Linked DNA regions of Homo sapiens: all the other regions are linked to region 3. The links are contacts of gene promoters, found by promoter capture Hi-C in blood cells and fetal thymus (Javierre and others, 2016). All regions are on one chromosome and are shown on one strand. The core of a region is centred on a gene start or on the middle of the fragment in contact, and the rest is flanking DNA. Distances in the headings are between cores, read along the strand shown.

Region 1 (3,223 bases), core at 109-2,608, 220 kb after region 3:
AAGGGCCTGAGAGGCACAATTAATAGACAGCTGGAAGCCGAGAGTCTTCAGGTACTTAGAGACAGGCTGATTATTAAAAGCTTCAGTACAGCGGTGAGGACGGAGACCCACAGTCTCTGTTCCCATTATCAATCATCCCTCGTGGCGGATTGGACCTGGCCCAGATTTTCTCAATCATTTCTCAATGACCACCACTCAGGCAGTCAGCAGTGGCAGGAGCCAGAGAGCTCCAGGGCTCCAGGGTGTGGCTCAGCAGAAGGGGCACTGGACACAACGGGGCCTAGGCAAGATCCTTCCCCTCTCAAAACCCCCATGTCCCGTTCTTTGGGCCTTTGGGACCTGGGTGTCTCTGGGCTGCCCTCTCACAGCCCTGCATAGCCCATGCCCTAGTGCTTGCTCGCTGAGTCTGCAAGGCCAACCTGTCCATTCCCCTGCAGCCGGCCTGCTGCTTGGCAGGGCAGGTGAGCGCCTCTCCTGTGGCAGACGGTGCAGTGTTCAGCTCCACTGGACCTTTCGGGTGATTTGACCTCTGGAAGTTCTATTCCACTCACTCTTGCTTCTCCCCTTCCAAGTGACTACATTCCTAGAGGTTCTAGCACCTGCGGAGATGGAAACAGCTGCTCCCCATCCTCCGGGATCTGGGTCAGAGAACCTGAAATGCAGGCATCTTTATTTCCCAGACTCAGTTATTAGACTTCCCTCTTTTTCAGAGTCAATGACCCCCACAAAAAGAGTGAGCATGAACATCAACCTTTCTCCAAGGACACCCAGGCTCTGATTTCACTGAACTACCCCAAGTCTCTATGAACGTGGAACTGAATCTGACTGATTGAAAGTAAAATTAAAAAGTAAATAGTCCTCTTTTCCCTAAAAGGAGTGGTAGTGGGTGCTTCTGCAGAGGTAGGATCAAAGCACTGAGAAGCCTATTAGAAAACAAGGACAGTAAAACACTCTCTTTTACCTGCAGGCAGAACATGGGGGCAGAGTGCCCAGGCAGAGCAGGATTTGCCTTCACATCCATCCAATATGGGCCCAAGTGTCAGCTTTGCTAGTTTCTCACTTATGTGATCCCGGACAAATTATTTGACCTCTTGTTGCCTCAGTTTCTTCGTCTATAAAATGGGCCAGTAATAACTAGCTGACAAAGTTATGTGGATATTCACAATTCTGTGTATAGAATGCCGAGCACAGTGCTCATGTGACATGGTGGGAGGCAAGTAACATTTACTGGCTGTCTATGATACTGTTGGGCCCTGCATGAGATGCACAGGATGTCACTTACAAAAAACTCAAAATGGTGGCCGTGATCACTCCCATTTCACAGATTAGAAAACCAAGGCTCGGAGAAGGTAAGTAACAACTCTGTTAGTAAGTGCTGCATAAGGATTCAAATCCATCTCTATCTGCTTCCAAAGACTTTGGGCTTATCCAGAATGGTGTAGATAGTGTGGGGGTAGGAGCATGCTGGGGTCCAGGTCTTGAGATGGTGAGAGGTGACAACGTGCTAGCAGCCCTCGCTCCCTCTCAGCACCTCCTTGGCCTCGGCGCCCACTCTGGCCGCGCTTGAGGAGCCCTTCAGCCTGCCCCTGCACTGTGGGAGCCCCACTCTGGGCTGGCCAAGGCTGCAGCCGGCTCCCTCTGCTTGTGGGGAGGTGTGGAGAGAGAGGCGCGGGCAGGAACCAGGGCTGCGCGCTGTGCTTGCGAGCCAGCGTGAGTTCTGGGTGGGCGGGGGCCCGCACTCGGAGCGACCAGCCAGTGCCGCTGGCCCTGGGCAGTGGGGGGCTTAGCACCTGGGCCAGCAGCTGCAGAGGGTGCGCTGGGTCCCCCAGCACTGCTGGCCTGCCCGTGTTGTGCTCCAATTCTCGCGGGGTCTCAGCTGCCTCCCCGAGGGGCAGGGCTCGGGACCTGCAGCCCACCATGCCTGAGCCTCCCCCGTCCTCCCTGCGCTCCCACCGGGCCCAAGCCTCCCCGACGGGCACCGCCCCCTGCTCCGTGGTGCCCGGTCCCATCGACCGCCCAAGGACTGAGGCGTGCAGGTGTGGGGCACGGGACTGGCAGGCAGCTTTGCCCACAGGCACGGCATTCACTAGGGGAAGCCAGCTGGGCTTCTGAGTCAGGTGGGGACTTGGAGAACTTTTATGTCTAGCTGGAGGATTGTATATGCACCAATCAGCACTCTGTGCCTTGCTCAGGGTTTGTGGATGCACCAATCAGCACTCTGTATCTAGCTTATCTGGTGGGGACTTGGAGAACTTTTATGTCTAGCTAAAGGATTATAAATACACCAATCAGTACTCTGTCTAGCTCAAGGTTTGTAAACACACCAATCAGCACTCTGTGTCTAGCTCAAGGTTTGTAAAGGCACCAATCAGTGCTGTGTCTAGCTAATCTAGTGGGGACTTGGAGAACTTTTACTTCTAGCTAGAGGATTGTAAATGCACCAATCAGCACTCTGTGTCTAGCTCAGGGATTGTAAATGCACCAATCAGCACCCTGTCAAAATGGACCAATCAGCTCTCTGTAAAATGGGCCAATCAGCAGGATGTAGGTGAGGGGTGGTCAGATAAGGGAATAAAAACAGGCTGCCCTAGCCAGCAGCAGCAACCCGCTCTCTGCTTCCACACTGTGGAAGCTTTGTTCTTTCGCTCTTTGCACTAAATCTTGCTGCTGCTCACTCTTTGAGTCCGCACCGCGTTTATAAGCTGTAACACCCACTGTGAAGGTCTGCAGCTTCACTCCTGAAGCCAGCGAGACCATGAACCCATCGGGAGGGAGGAACAACTCCAGATGCGCCGCCTTTAAGAACTGTAACACTCACTGCAAAAGTCTGCAGCTTCACTTCTGAAGCCAGTGAGACCACGAACCCACCAGTTGGAAGAAACTCAGGACACATCTGAACATCAGAAGGAACAAACTCTGGACACACCATGTTTAAGAAGTGTAACACTCACCGCTAGGGTCTGCGGCTTCAAGTGTACCAAGAACCCACCAATTTTGTACACAATGGCAGAAGTCATTGAGATCAGAGAAGAGTGGGACAAGAGGAGGGGTAGCAAGGACAGGCCTTAGAGAGAAGAGGCTCAGGGCCCGTGACATCCTGGTGACCAGCTGTCTCACTGTGCCCTTAGCAGGTGAGGCAACTGATAGTATTGGCTGGTCCAAAGATCCAGTGACAGAGAGTCTAGGACAGTCCCCCAAGAGGCAGACGAAGCTGGACAAGGGC
Region 2 (3,279 bases), core at 523-3,022, 230 kb after region 3:
TGAAGTGACCAAAAACTTTATTCCTGAGGGTTTTGAATACTGTCTCTATTGGGTCACTGTATGTTCTATTCATTTTGCTAATAACTGAAGATGCTCCAAAGGATCCTTTGGGTTCTTGACACATTTTCCCCTGCTGCCACCCAAGATATAGCAACCTTAGTCCCCCTTTGCCTTTATCTGTTGATTAGTGGCATAAAAAGAAACAGGTTCCTAGTTCTTTGTTTAGTGGAACCATTTTTAGTTACCTAGGGGAAGAATTTCTCTTTTGGGCACTTATGTCTTGATGTCAGCTGAGCCCAGTGAATGGGAAAAAAAGTTTATAAGGGACCATTAGGTTTAATAGTGAGGGGCACCTCTCCTATTTCTCTCCCTTAGTTACTGAATACACACATTTTCGGCTATGAGAGCAAAAGAACCATATTATTAGTCTCCAGTTCTGAGTATATACTGCATGCTGCAAATGACACCCAACTCTCATAAGGTGTTGAGTGAGTCCAAATTGGAGCTGTGATTGAGCCTTCAACAGGTTTGTTCACTGTTCTATTACTCCACCTGCTTTGGGATGATGAGGTTCCATGATAAGACAAGTGTATGCTGTAGAAATAAGCCTATCATCCATTGCTTTAAAATTATTTTTCCTGGACAGAAACAATGTTGCAAGGGATTGGGAGGGTAATTCAAGTATTCGGAAAGTCCATAGATGCTGCTTTTAGTCAAACTACAACAGGCAGAGAAGACAAATGCATATTCCAGGAAATGTCTATTCCAGCAAGGGTAAATTGCTTCCTCCTCCATGATGGAAGGTGTCTAATAGGGTGGCTACATACTGTACTGGGCACTCAGTATTGGTCTCTGCAGCTGAGTACTCAGCAATAGTGGAAGCTGGATCAAGCTTAAAGGGAAATCCAAGCCCTTGTGTAACCTCCATCCCTGCTATTGTGGCCACGTTGTTAGTGAGCCCATTGAGCAAATACTGGGGTGTCTGGGTAAAGAGGTCAATGGAGATCCATTGAATAGGCCATCTTGTCTACCTGATTATTGGCCGCATTTGCACTTGGTAAGTGTGGTAGGCAGAATAATGGCCACCCCAAAGACGTCCATGTCCTAATCTTTGGAACCTGTGAATGTGTTAACTTACATGGCAAAGGAACTTTGCAGATGTGATTGAGTTAAGGACCCTGAGATGGGAAGATTATCACAAGAGTCCTTGTAAGAGGCAGGTAGGAGAGTAAGAGTCAGAGAAGGAGATGCAATGTTAGAAGCCAAGGTCAGAATGATGCAAATGCTGGCTTTGAAGATGGAAGAGAGCCATGAACCAAGGAATGCAGATAGCCTTTAGTAAGCTGAAAAAGGTAAGTGTATCAATTTTCTCCTAGAGCCTCCAGAAAGAAATGCAGCCCTGCTGGCACCTTGATTTTAACTCAGTGTGACCATTTAGACTCTGACTTCCAGAACTGTAAGAGAATACATTTGTGTTGTTTTAGGCTATTAAATTTGTGGTGGCAGCAATAGGAAGTGAATATAGTAATCATTGTCTTATTTCTGACTTTAACATCAATAGCTTCTGTAGTTCTCTATTCAAAACATTTTATCATGTCAAGGAAATATCCACACATTTCTATTTTATTTGCTTTTAAATTTAAATATCAAGAATGAGTGCAGAATCTGATCAAATGCTCCCCCAGAATGTATGGAGATAATCACGTTTTATTGTTTCTTAACATAATAAACTGTATTAATGGATTTTAAGGAGTTATCCTGGTATTCCTAGAATAATCCCACTTGATCCCATTTTTAATTTTTTGTGCTGAAATTTAAAAATATCATCTTTGAGGTGTAAATAACACCCAATAAGTTGAATTCACTTAAAGGGCACACTATTTTGTCAGTTGTATATAGCCACGAAACTACGACCATAATCAAGAGGCAAAACTTTTCCATCCGCCCCAAAAGATTCCTTATGTCCCATTACAGTACACCCTTCCCTCTACTCCGAGTCCCAGGTAACCACTGATTCTATTCCTTTACATGCTTCATTTTTTAAAGATTTTATATAAATGGAGTAATACTAGATATATGTCTGTGTGTATGTCTATCTATCCATCCATCCATCCATCCATATATACATTTCTGCCTTCTTTTCCTCTGCCTGATTTTGAGATTCTTCCATGCTTTTGTGTTTATCAGTAGTTTGTTCTGTTTTCTTGCTGAGTAGTATTCCTTTGTATAAATATACTATATTTTTTGCTTATTCATTCAGTTAAATGATGGATATTTAAGTTGGTTCCAGTGTTTTGGCTATTAAGAATAAAACTTCTGTGAACGTTTACATACAGAGCTTATTGTGGACAAATGCGTGGATTTCTCATGGGTAAATACCTAGAAATGGGCTGGTGGGGTCATATGGTAGGTGTATGTTAAAATTTTAGTGAAAGGTAAAAGATTTATGCAATCTGAAGAAAAACCAGAGTATGCTGTTTAACTTAAAAAAAAAATCCTGTCACTTCTTGGAAGTGGTTGTATCATTTCTCATTTCCACCAACAATGCATGAAGGTTCCAGTTGCTCCATATCCTCACTAACATTTGGTATTGTCAGTCTTTTTAATTTTAAACATTCTGCTGAGTGTGTTAAGAATCTTATCACAAGCTTTGGGTTTTTCTGCCTATCTTACTTTTATTTGTTTCTAATTTAATTTGGTTGTGGTTAGAGAAATATTCTGTATGATTTTAATTCTTTTAAATTTATTGAGACTTGTTTTGTGCCCAGACTATGGTAAATCTCAGCAAACACATAGTGCACACTTGAAATAAATGTGTATTCTGCAGTTGTTAGGTAGTGTTTTGTAACTATTAGTTAGGTCAACATGGCGAATATTATTATTCAGATTCCTGAATAATACCATTATTTTTATAGATCTTTACTGATGTTTCTGTCTAGTTGCTCTATCGCTTGCTGAGAGAGAGGTGTTAAAAACCTATTGTGATTATGGAATTTTCTATTTCTCCTTTTAATCCTGTCAATTTTCGTTTCATGTATTTTGAGGCTCTGTTGATAGATCTATACTCATTTACGGTTATTAAGTCTCATTGATAAATTGATCCTTTTGTCACTATAAAATTTCCCTCTTCATTTTTTGGTACTATTCTATCTTGAATTCTATTTTATCAGATATTTATATACCTAATCTAGCTCTCTTATGGTTTGCATAATATATCTTTTTGCATTCATTTAATTTGAACTTATTCCTATCTTTATATTTAAAGTGTGTTGGGTTATG
Region 3 (3,354 bases), core at 610-3,109:
GCCCCAGGAGGCTTAGAGTAGGGGGTCCAGAGGGACATTGTGATCCTGGCAGGGAAGGACACTAGAGGCAGGATCTTTCCCAGCCCCAGAGCTCTGGAGGACTTGGAGAAGTATGGAGAGAGGACCCTGACTCCTCTACCGGAACAAAGACTCTTCACTCAGGTACCTGCTTTAGGAAGGGCTGGAAATTGACACTTCACTTCAGTGTCCTCCCCTGACTTCTCAGAACCACCAAACAATAGATGGTTAGTCCCTTGTGCTGTGGACAACCTGTGTATCTGAATACTGCAGTCTTTTTTTCAGATGAAGAGTCAGTGTTTCCCCTTCATTCTGGGGTTTCCCAGGTAGATGTCTTGGGTGGTCCCTGGGCTGGGAGTTGGCACAAGTGGCTGGGCAGATCCCTGTGAAAGAGGAGGCTGGTAGTTGCACGGTATGTGGTGCTGACAGACAGCGGCATGGCATGGCCTTGGGTGAGTGGGGGGGGGAGGCAGGGGATCTGTAACCCTTCGTGCATGTGGCCCCAGGGCATGTATAGCACAGTGTGCATAGGAGGCCAGGCAAGAGAACTTTTCTTGCTAAGTGACTCAGTCTAGGAACGAGGTCTCCAAGTGCCTACTCTGGGAGGGCTCTTATGTGTTGACGTGAGTTGGACTGTGTCCTTGTGTGTGTGTGTGTCCACAGGAGGGTGTGGGGCTGAGCCCTCCCTCCTTCTCCTGGACAGCTCCAAAGAACAGAGCGGGTGATTCACTGGCCCCCACCCACCCTCAGTTGGTCCAGCCAAGGCCAGAGCTCAAAGAGGAAGGGTTTTTTTTGGAGGGGAACGTGGTGGTTCCAGACAATGAAGGCCTGGGGCAGACTTTGCTGGATTCCCCCTTAGTGCTCCGTGGGAATACTTTTGGGTTTTGACCCAGCCTCCTTTCCACCCTCTAGACCCCCAACAATTGTCCCTGGGCAGAGGTGGGGGCGAGGGGAGGGGAGGGCTGGTGGGCAGGGGACACTGAGGGGAAGAAATAGGCCTGTGGAATGGTGGGAGGGGAGAACTGGGCCCAGGGAGGGGGAGAGGGGAGGAGGGGGAGGAAGTGGGGAAATGCAAACCAAATGTTGGCCCCGGGTACAGTCAAGAAAAACACACTCTCGCGGGAGCCTGGAGCGGGGCTCCCTTTCAGAAGGGCAGGAAAGGCTGGGACAGATGTTTGCAGGAAAGAAAGAAAGAAGGGGGAAAAAAAAAGAAATAGGAAAAAAATTGGAATGAAACCCACAGCCTGGGGGCAGGGCCATTCTTCCCCAGTCTCGGGCCCTATTTCTTCTGTGTTAAGGCCTGTCCTGGGCTCTGAGCTTGGCGCGTGGGCACCAGAGTCTGTCCCAGTCTGTGTGTGCAAATGCATGTGTGTTCCGAGGAGGCCAGGAAGGCAGGCACGGGTACTCAGAGAAGGGGAGGGGCCAAGGCACCCTGAGTGTGCTGATTGTGTGGGCCTGGGGCTGTCTGTTCATCCATCAGTGGTCTGGAGGGTTCCAGGAGTGAAGGCCCCCAGGCTGGTTTGCCAGGGGCGGGGGTCTGCAGTGAGGAGGGAGGACTCCAGGCCTACCAGCACCAGATCAGAAGACTGAGGAGCCTTGGTGGCACACAGGGGTTGTGTGTCCGGGGGTGGGGGGCACGGCCTGGGGGGGCCCTGCCTCTGGTAGCTTTCCCTTTTCCCTGTCCCCTTTACACCCCCTGCAAAGCAGGGTTCCTGACCCTCAAGGCCACCGGTGGAGCCTGGGAGGAGGGAGGAGAGAGGAGGCTGGGACGAGGGGTGGAGTGGGGGGAGGAGGAGGAGGAGGGAGGGTGAGCTGGAGGCAGCAGGGCGAGAGGCCCAGCAGATGCTGGCGGAGCCGGAGCAGCCGCGGACTCAGAGAGCCCTTCTGCCAGCGCCGCGGGGACTCTAGCTTCAGGGGCTCTTCACAGGCCCTGGGCGTGCCTCAGTGACGGGACCCAGCAAAGATGACGTGGATCTGTCTGTCCTGCATGCTCTGGGTAGGTCTGGCTGCTTTAGCTGCGACGTTACTCTTCCTCAAACCCCCCGCCCCCCACCGGCCCCTGCCACCTTATCCTTTTGCTGAGAGCCCGGGGTCGGGGGGTGTCAGTCTTGAAGGAGGGGCCTTTCTGTCTCTGACCTACAGAAGGACAGACTGACTTGAGCAACCCTCAGCCGGAAGACTTTCCCCACCAACAGGGCCCAGGCCCAGGGTCCCGGGTCAGTACATCCCCTGCCCCACCCCCCCACCCCCCAATGGAGTCCCAGAGCTGTAAGTGGAAGGAGGCCACAGAGAAGTTTGCTTCTCTTTAGAGCCTTTCCTCCCGACTTGCATCCTACAATGGGGTGAAAATTCTTCACCGCCCCCCCTCAGTTGCTGAGCCCAAGATCTTGAGGAGGAGGCAGTGGTGGGGCTGGGGAGCAAAGAATAGTAGTCCAAAATATTAAGTCTGGAAGAGCTGGGCTGTGGGAGAATTCTCAGAGTCCATCCCTTTTATTCCTTCTACACCCAGTTTCAGCTTCCACCCACTGCCATCCCTTCCTCCACAGCCCTCCCCTGCTACCAAGACCTCTCCATCCTGGAGGAGGGAGCCATGGCCCGCTCTTCCCCCTTTCTCTCTTGGCTCCAGGTTCAGGGAGGTGGGTTTCAGGATGGGGATGCCAGGGGGGCCAGCAGAGAGGCCTGGGGGCCACGTGGTGAAGGTTAAAAGTCTTAAGGCCAGACCTGGGCTGAGGCTCCTGGGTAAAGGGGGATGGGAGAGGGCTGCCTGCTGCAGAAGGGCTGGGGGTCAGAGGAGGAGAGGACCCCTTCCTCAGAGGGGCTCCTGTGGGGCTGTCTTGGCCAGGCAAAGGCATGCATGGGGTCAGGAGGGTGAGGAAGTCGTCCCTGGCTGAGGTTACTGTTGGGCTCTGAGAGAGTGATGGCTGGTTTGGGGGAGGGGGCTTCAGGGCTGTGATCCAGATGTGGCCTTTCCTGTCCCTTTCCTTGTTCTGGCCAGTCCTCGGGAGGGCCCTCTTGGCCCAGGCAAGCCCATGCTGGGGGCAGTTGTGGGAACACAAACTCGGGCAGCCAGGTGTCCTCTGGGCAAAGAAAGAAAGGGTGGGGGAGGGGGCCTGGAATGAGGCGGTTTGGGTGGCATGTTGGGCTGGGGTGCTGGGATGGATTGGATTAATAGATTGAGAGTGACTGGGGAGGCCTGCACACAGGATGCATTTGTGGTTTACTGGGCTGGTGTTGACATCTGGGAAATGGGAGCCTTGGCCAGGTTCGTCTCTGTGCTGAGGACAGAGGTAGGCAGGAGGGAGCTCTGCAGCAAGAAGGATGGCAGGTAGACGTCCA

The links. Contacts are between HindIII fragments. The CHiCAGO score rates a contact against its expected background, and 5 or more counts as called.
Region 1: a contact is called between a fragment that was not itself captured here and the fragment with the promoter of TNS1 in region 3, in 11 of 17 cell types (megakaryocytes, naive B cells, endothelial precursors and 8 more). The highest score is 19.1, in megakaryocytes.
Region 2: a contact is called between a fragment that was not itself captured here and the fragment with the promoter of TNS1 in region 3, in 4 of 17 cell types (megakaryocytes, endothelial precursors, total B cells and 1 more). The highest score is 6.8, in megakaryocytes.

Annotation. Positions count from the first base shown.
Region 1 is chr2:217,786,076-217,789,298 of GRCh38, reverse strand. All of the region lies in intron 1 of DIRC3 (disrupted in renal carcinoma 3), which reads left to right. Among named protein-coding and RNA genes, the nearest start is that of DIRC3, 2.8 kb to the left of the region's middle. The HindIII fragment of the contact is 2,552 bases long and covers 83-2,634 here.
Region 2 is chr2:217,768,352-217,771,630 of GRCh38, reverse strand. The region is part of intron 2 of DIRC3 (disrupted in renal carcinoma 3); the gene reads left to right. Among named protein-coding and RNA genes, the nearest start is that of DIRC3, 20 kb to the left of the region's middle. The HindIII fragment of the contact is 1,756 bases long and covers 895-2,650 here.
Region 3 is chr2:218,001,500-218,004,853 of GRCh38, reverse strand. It overlaps TNS1 (tensin 1), which reads left to right and starts at 1,859. Exons shown (of 33, transcript NM_001387777.1): 1 at 1,859-2,014. The coding sequence starts at 1,982. RefSeq lists enhancers at 574-673, 2,414-2,914, 2,915-3,354. The HindIII fragment of the contact is 26,666 bases long and covers 1-3,354 here.